Regions from separate parts of the Homo sapiens genome. Here region 2 is linked to region 1. Evidence: promoter capture Hi-C in human tissues and cell types (Jung and others, 2019). All regions are on one chromosome and are shown on one strand. Each heading gives the region's core, a stretch centred on a gene start or on the middle of the fragment in contact. The rest is flanking DNA. Distances are from core to core; before and after follow the strand shown.

Region 1 (4,068 bases), core at 29-2,528:
CCACCTTATGAATGTTTCTTAATATATAAACCTAATCTAAACCAAGATAAGCTACAGGTGCATATTAACAATCTTTACTCATAAAGCTTTGCATATTTTTACATACTATTCTTCAAGATGGAAAAAACACCATCAAACTGGCTTATTTTCATAGATGTCTTTATATAGTCTATGATGTCTTCATTCCATAAAAAATCCACACGATTAAATATGAAATTAATGTACCCAGCTATGAGGCTACCGCATTCTTTAACCCAAGAACAAGAAAATACATGAATCAGAGAACTGCAATTACCTACTTGCTGGTCTATTTCCTCATTAGAGTGAATTTTTTGAGGACTAAATTGCATTTCTCTATCTCTAATGCTTACCCCCTATCTCACTGGCTCTGTGTGTTTGAGTGCATGCGCTGAATGTTTATATCACTTAATTTCTGTTCGGAACACGCTGTCTCTTAGCACCAGTAGATCTGGCCTTAGAGCTAAGGAAAGAAGGCCTTTCTAACCCATAAGGGGTACTAATCCTGTACAGACTCCAATATCTCCCGGGCTGGGTACACGCAGGTTCACACCCAGGTGTGAGCAAGATTGCCAAACTATACCTATAAGGCGTTTGGAGGGGAGAGTCCAAAAGTCACGAGACCCGGCTAATTTAGCTACTATTTCACAACAACCCTGATCGTGGTCGGACTTGTTTCTAGGAAGATGCGATGGGCTGGAACTTCCTTCAAGAACAGATTGCAAAAGGCAGCCGACCAGGGCGTGTCAGGTCACTGCCAAGGGAAGCAGCAGCGGAAACCGTCGCCTCCGGCTTAGGCTGCGGAGCGGGAACCCCATTCTCTGAGTTATGTTTCTGCCTAAACACGCAGAACAAAAGAGTTCGTGGCTGCAAGGGTGGCGCGCGGTAGTATTTCTTGCTAATAAAAGGTCCCCACAGGGACATTTTTGCTATGACTGCAGGCGTGGCCAGTCTCCCTGCACAGCTTCCGGGAAGAGGTGGGGATAGGAGGCTCGCCCCGGGGAAGGTTACGCTCGGGGTCCCCAGACCAGGTCTCCGCACGCCCCTGCCCCGTCGCCTCCCGGGAGCGGCTGCAGTCCCCGTTGGCTGCAGACGGGCAGACACCCGAAGTGTCCGCGCCGGCAGCCGGACCGCAAGCGAGGAAGAGCGAACCGCGCTCCCGGGCCTGGCCGAAGCGCTTCCTGTGCCAGGTTTCCGGCTCCGGGTCCCGGGAGGAGGATCGCGGGCCAGAGGCGGAGCCGCCGCCCTGCCGCGACTTTCAGACTCCGACCATGGCCTCGCGCTGGTGGCGGTGGCGGCGCGGCTGCTCCTGGAAGCCGGCGGCGCGGAGCCCCGGGCCCGGCTCCCCCGGCCGTGCGGGACCGTTGGGGCCGAGCGCCGCTGCCGAAGTCCGCGCGCAGGTGAGGTTGGGAGGCGCGCGCCCGGCGGGGCTCAGAGGTCACGGCTCCAATGACAGCAGTGGGCGGAATGAATGGGAGCGGGGAGCACGTGCGTCGCGACGCGGGGGCGCGCGGGGTAGCTCCGGGGTAGCTCCGGGGTGGGACTCCGGAGCTGAGGGGTGCTCGCGGTGGGACGGAGCCGCGCGTTGGACTGAAGTAGGGGCGCCCTACACGGGGTTGCAGAAAGCGGTGTCCTGGGGACCCCGGGAGCGTTTTGGGGGGTGGAGAAAGCGGTGGGATCCGTGTCCTGGGGGAAGCGCAGGAGCGATCAGATTGACCGCTGCTATATGGACAAGGTTAAGCCTGGAGAGCGACTGCAGCTATTTACTTTGGAGTTAGAGGAAGACAGATCTTGCCTGAAATTTTAGAGCCAAAGTGCTCAGAGCTCTCTCCGAGAAACGGAGGATCGAATCGGCCTCGGAATAGTCCGAAAAGGTCTTGTGGAGAATGCAGGGCTGGTGCTAGGGTGGACCGGACCTTAGTTGTCCAGCAGTGGCCTCGGGAGGAGAGCACACCTGGATGGGGCTGGAATGACACTGGAAGGAGAAAGGCCCGAGGCCGTCAGGAGGAGAGAAACCCTGGAGTCATCTAAAGTCAGAATCTCAGCGATAGCCCATTCTTTCAGGGTCTCCTCTGCTGCCTTTGGGTTCCGATCTCCTTTTTCTCCCTTTCTGGTCAGTTTAGCCCCTGTAAATGGACACTGTGAGCCCTTCTGCGCTTTGTAATGATTCTCAGTGTGCCATGGGGTAGGCCCATGCTATTAGCATAACCGTGCAAAATCTATGGACTCACTGTTACTTAAGTTTATTTGAATTTAGTACTCTTTTAATTCAGATTTGGTATACTTTATGTGTCCGTGTTCTCATCAAACATCATTTCCCAGTATGAAATATATAACACTTATAAATATCTACTTTGTACCAAAGTAGATGCGTATCACAAATTATCCAAAACAAGGCTTGGGCCAGGCACAGTGGCTCACACCTGTAATCCCAGCACTTTGGGAGGCTGAGGTGGGAGAATCGGTTGAGGCCAGGAGTTTGGGACCAGCCTAGGCAACATAGCAAGACTCTGTCTCTATAAAAAATAGAAAAAATTCACCAGGTGGGGTGGTGCATGCCTGTAGTTCTACCTACTCAGGAGCCTGAGGGAGGAGGATTGTTCGATCCCAGGAGTTCAAGATTACAGTGAGCTGTTTATTGTGATAGTGCCAGTGCACTCCAGCCTGGGCAACAGTGTGAGACCCTATCTCTAAAAAATCTAAAGCAAAAAAGACGTTTGGAGACCAAGTGGCAGCTGGGCAACTAGACAATGCTAGAGAGTAAAGAGAACAGAATATGGGGGGTGAGGGGCATGTGGGAGAAGAGGCTTAGAGGAGGAAGGTAGGCTTTGCTGTGATCCATTTCAGGACTGTTCTCTCCAGACTTCAGATATTTCTAGTTCCACAGAAGAAGCCAGTATTTGAAGAGATGGGTGCATCCACCCTCTTATGCCACTACATGCTTCTTCTTCTTCTTCTTTTTTTTTTTTTTTGACACAGAGTCTCACTCTGTCGCCCAGGCTGGAGTGCAGTGGCGGAATCTCGGCTCACTGCAAACTCCACCTCCCAGGTTCAAGCGATTCTCCTGCTGCAGACTCCCAAGTAGCTGGGATTACAGGCGTACACCACGACCCCCAGCTAATTTTTGTATTTTTAGTAGAGACGGCATTTCACCATGTTGCCCAGGCTGGTCTGGAACTCCTGACCTCAAGTGATCCACCCCCTCCTCGGCCTCCCAAAGTGCGGGGATTACAGGTGTGAGCCACCACGCCTGGCCTGACACTTCTTTTTAAAAAAGTTTCTTGCCCACCAAGCAACCTTAGCCAGGGAAAGTGTGCTTTTCTGGAGAGAATATGCTTTATGGCCTCCCCGTCTGCATGACGACAAGGAGGAATTCTGTGGACTCATGATGCCAAGATCATGTATTTCTGATGTGTGTGTCAGTGATGCCTTTCACTATATGTTAATATGTTAGCATTCTGGTGTCTGCCTCAGGCATGTGTATTTTGGTTACTTCAAGTCTCTTAGGGCCTGATAGTCCTTGGGGACACAGAACTACAATAACTAAGCCACAGGGACAAAGAGCGGCAATAATTAAGCCACGTCTTGCTCTCCACCAGAGCTCTACTACCTCCTAATGGTTGTACATTCTTCTGACTTCACTAGTAGTGTGAACAAATATTGTAATACAATAAAAACCAGTGTGCATGTGATCGTGCCAAATCACTTCTCAATATATCTTTGATTTTTTTTTTTAATTTATTTTTTTAGAGACGGGGACTTTTTGTGTTGGCCAGGTTGGTCTTGAACTCTTGGACTCAAGCCATTCCCCCCTCCCCCCCACCCCGCTTGAGGATTGGCACACGGCCATGTATTTGATTCTTACCCAGCACTTTCTCTTTAGCTGAGCGTGGTGGCTCACGCCTGTAATCCCAACAGTTTGGGAGGCCGAGGCAGGAGAATCCCTTTAGCTCAGGAGTTCGAGACCAGCCTGGGCCACTTAGTGAGACCTCCTGATATGGTTTGGCTCTGTGTGCCCACCCACATCTATCTCGAATTGTAATCCCCAAT
Region 2 (4,340 bases), core at 22-2,521, 150 kb after region 1:
AGAAGCAAAGCTTTTCCTAAAACTTCCATGTGACTATAAAAGGAATGTATTGCAATTCTCCTCAGTGATGTAAATATTAATATATCACACATTCTTCCCACCTTGCAGCACCGTACCTCCTCACCCAAAAAGCAAAAATGAGAGTGGCAGGATTTTCATAGAGATAGTACCATGCTGCCTTTCTTCTTCTTCTTTGTGGTAGTGGGGCAAGGTAGGAGAGGTAGGATGGGTGGAAGAAATACCCAATTGAGTTGAAAAAAAAAATAGCTCTATATACCACAAGACATTAATAAACACTAACAATAAAGCCACTCATACAAGCAGTCCCCAAGTTATGACAATTAGCTCATACAAAAGTGATTGATTCAGACCTATAACTCATTTATCTTATATTTAACCACTCATCCAGTGGTTTCTGTTGATTATGCCAAACGTGTCTAGACAAATGAACAGAATATGTCAGGACATAGCAAAAGCACAATTTCATCTTACCAGTGTTAAATTTAAAACACGGTTTCTATTTTCAAATCTGGGAAACACTGATCCGATCTTCTACAGTTTAGTGACAGCAGTTCAAGTATGTTTTTGACTAAGACTTCATCTCCTCCACCTTCCCTGGCACTTGACACTACTCACAGCTCTCCCAAACATGCCTTGCTATCTTTCTGTTCCTACTACCTATATATATCCCTTGCCTCCCAATCCCCCTTCCCCTCAACTCTTTAAATTAATGACTCGGCTAAACTCATTCTTTAGGAGAAACTTTGCCTGAGAACCCCCAAACACTACTGTTCCTTAGAATTCTCTCTAAAAGTTCCTTTCAAAAAGAGATCATTTTCAACCCACGTCATATGTATTTGAAATTTATAAAGACTACACATATAAAAATACCAACAATCTGTAATGCAGAAGGTTATGATAGAACATCAAAATTAACATCAAAAGACATGCACCTCATGCCACAACAGTATATAGCCAGAGAAACTGGAATCCCTTTCCTCTCCTCTTCCCTCTTCCCTTCCCTGTTCTGCCCACGCAGCCAGCTAGCAGTCAAGCTTTATTCCTATTCTCCAACCCACTGCTCTGCCAATCAATTCAATTGTGGAGGAGTAAAAGCTGGAAAGTGTCAGAAACCAACTGTGTACTAACAGCTGAAAAAGAGGGGGTCTATAGATTCACTTCTGTGACTGCAAATTACCTTCTGTAGGCGCATTAGCTTTATGCTAGGGGAAAATAGATACCGGTTAAATAAGCCTTCTTTGGGTTCTCCTTTTCCCGCAGCCACCCATATCTCCTTCACCAAGGCTTGCTGATTCTTATCTTCCTTTTCAATCTTACTACAGCTATCTCAATTCATGAAATACTCTTTACAGTGAGACAAATGTGACAGTCCTCTAACTGGTCACTGTCCATCCAGTCTCTCCCTTCTCCAATCCATCCCGTACCAATGTAAGATGAATCTTCCCAAAGCACATCCTTTGTACAAAAACTGGAAAGGCAGAAAACAAGCATACAGTTTGAGGGGAGAGGATAATAGCAGTATGGGGAGAAGAAGAAGAGACATTTTAGGTTTGACTTTTAATACAACTGTATTGACCCTTTTATAGGAACATATTACCTAAATGCTTTAAAAAAAAAAAAAGCTGCTTGACATATTCTCTTTCCATAAGCAAACTTCTGACTGCCCAAACTAAAATCAAAACCCTTTCAAAAATAACAATTATTTTTCTTCCATACAGAACATTTCCTCATTTAACTATACATACTATAGACCAATTTTCTTTTTCTTAGATTTAAGGCTTTTCAGTGATTTCTACATAGCTTATAAATAATATAGACACAAAGCAGGGCATGATGGCTCACACCTATAATCGCAGCACTTTGGGAGGCTGAGGCGGGCGGATCACCTGAGGTCAGGAGTTCGAGACCAGCCTGACCAATATGATGAAACCCCATCTCTACTAAAGCTACAAATACTAGCTGGGTATGGTGGCATGTGCCTGTAATCCCAGCTACTTGGGAGGCTGAGACAGGAAAATCACTTGAACCCGGGAGGTGGAGGTTGCAGTGAACCAAGATCGTGCCATTGCACTCCATCCTGGACAACAAGAGCGAAACTCTGTCTCAAAAATAATAATAATAATATAGACATCATACCACCACATCATAATACCTAACAGACAGTCTTCCATAGAGTAGGCAATTAACTATTTGTTGAATGAATCTTTCTCTATTTCAGTTCAACAAATCCCAATAGCCTCAAATACTCCTCTTTTTAGAAAAGAAAAATAATAGTCACAGTCTACCATGATGAGTTCAGGCACTGAAGATTTTAGAAAAAATGGACAAGCACAGTGGCTCATGCCTGTAATCCCAGCACTTTGGGAGGCCGAGGCAGGCAGAGCACCTGAGGTCAGGAGTTCAATACCAGCCTGGCCAACATGGTGAAACCCCGTCTCTACAAAAAAATACAAAAAGTAGCCAGGCACGGTGGTGGGTACCTGTAATCCCAGCTACTGAGGCTGAGGCAGAGAGACTTGCTTGAACCTGGGAGGTAGAGGTTGCAGTGAGCTGAGATCACACCACTGCACTCCAGTCTGGGCGACAGAGTGAGACTCCGTCTCAAAAAAAAAAAAAAGATTTTAGAAAAACCATCACCAATTGCTACCATCACCTCTAGACTAGCCACCCTCCAATCTGTTCTGAACTCCTTCCAATCTGTAGTCAATCCTCCTTCCAATCTGTTCTCCACTCTAAACAAGAGTAAACTTCATAAAAAGTAAAAATTATATCATCCCATTGCTGAAAACTTTCTTTCTCTTTTCTTTTTTTTTTTTTTTCTTGAGGCAGAGTCTCACTCTGTTGCCCAGGCTGGAGTGCAGTGGCGTGCTCTCAGCTCGCTGCAACCTCCGCCTCCCAGGTTCAAGTGATTCTCCTGCCTCAGCCTCCTGAGTGGCTGGGACTACAGGCAAGCACCACCATGTCTGGCTAATGTTTGTATTTTTAGTAGAGACGGGGTTTCACCATGTTGGCCAGACTGGTCTCAAATTCCTGACCTCAAGCGATGGGCCCACCTTGGCCTCCCAAAGTGCTGGGATTACAGGCAGGAGCCACTGCGCCCAGCCTTGCTTAAAACTTTCAATGCCTTCTCATCAGCCTCAGACAAAAAAAAAGATCAAAATCCTTATCTGGTACCTACCTACCTCTTCACAGATGACTCTGTTTACTCTGAAGTACACAAGTGTGTAACTTGTTCAAAATCACTCTGCCTTCACTCTTACCTTTGAGCCTGTACACATGCTGCTCTCCCCTCCACAGAGACACTGTTTTCCCTTCCCCCAAATGTTCTCGGTTAACATATATTCACCCTTCAGATCTCAACTCCAACATTACTTCTATGACACACCAAGCTAGGTGGCAGCACCTGATGTATACTTTCATGTCACATGTACCTTCCCTAGATGTAATTTATTATAGTTTGAGTTATTTGATTAATGGAGGAGGCCAACTATAAAATCACTTGAGGGTAGAAACTGTATCTGATTGACAAAACAGTCTGACACATAATACGTGTAAAAAGTCGCAGAATAACTGAGTATGTGACAAACTAATATACTCTGTCATACTAAGAAGCACAATACATATAATTATAAATATATTTCATTTTACTGTGCATTCCTTTTGGAACTCCTGTGGTTCCAACTTGGGAGCCTATACAATTTTGCCAGTTTTCTTTGGGATCTTTATGGTATTATCTGATTATTCTAAAAGAATAAGAGTTATCACCAGTTTGTCTTCCCACTATTCAAAGCAAACTCTGAGGACCAGGCATGGTGGCTCACGCCGGTAATCTTAACTCTTTGGGAGGTCAAGGTAGGCAGATCCCCTGACCCCAGGAGTTCAAGACCAGCCTGGAAAACATGGTGAAACCCTGTCCTTAACAAAAAAATAACAAAAATTAGCCAAGCGTGATGGTGCACACCTGTAGTCCCAGCTACTTGGGAGGTGAGGTGGGAGGATTGCTTGAGCCCAGGAGGTTGAGGCTGCAGTGAGCTGAGATCGCACCACTGTACTACAGCCTGAGCAACAGAGAGAGACCCTGTCTTTAAAAAAAACAAGCAAAATTTGATTATTATTAATTTTAAGGGAAGATGGAACTGAAAAAAAATAGGCTTCTCAAACCTTTTAAAAGAGATATTATTTAACAGAGGAAAAGATAAATGCAAAGCCTTTTTTCATGGAAAACATAAAATGTATATAATAAAAGGGGGAAAATGCCAGAGAAACAACTAAAACAAAAAGTGTACCCTCTGTTTTTTGTCCTTTTCTCCCACTTCAGT

The links. Contacts are between HindIII fragments. The study calls those that stand out against the background at their distance.
Region 2: a fragment that was not itself captured here is called in contact with the fragment with the promoter of PDSS1 in region 1 in 1 of the 25 tissues and cell types used here (hippocampus).

Annotation. Positions count from the first base shown.
Region 1 is chr10:26,696,423-26,700,490 of GRCh38, forward strand. PDSS1 (decaprenyl diphosphate synthase subunit 1) reads left to right here and starts at 1,279. Exons shown (of 12, transcript NM_014317.5): 1 at 1,279-1,418. The coding sequence starts at 1,290. RefSeq lists a silencer at 952-1,571 and an enhancer at 1,446-2,334. The HindIII fragment of the contact is 21,055 bases long and covers 1-4,068 here.
Region 2 is chr10:26,843,518-26,847,857 of GRCh38, forward strand. The region is part of intron 1 of ABI1 (abl interactor 1); the gene reads right to left. Among named protein-coding and RNA genes, the nearest start is that of ABI1, 15 kb to the right of the region's middle. The HindIII fragment of the contact is 4,695 bases long and covers 1-3,619 here.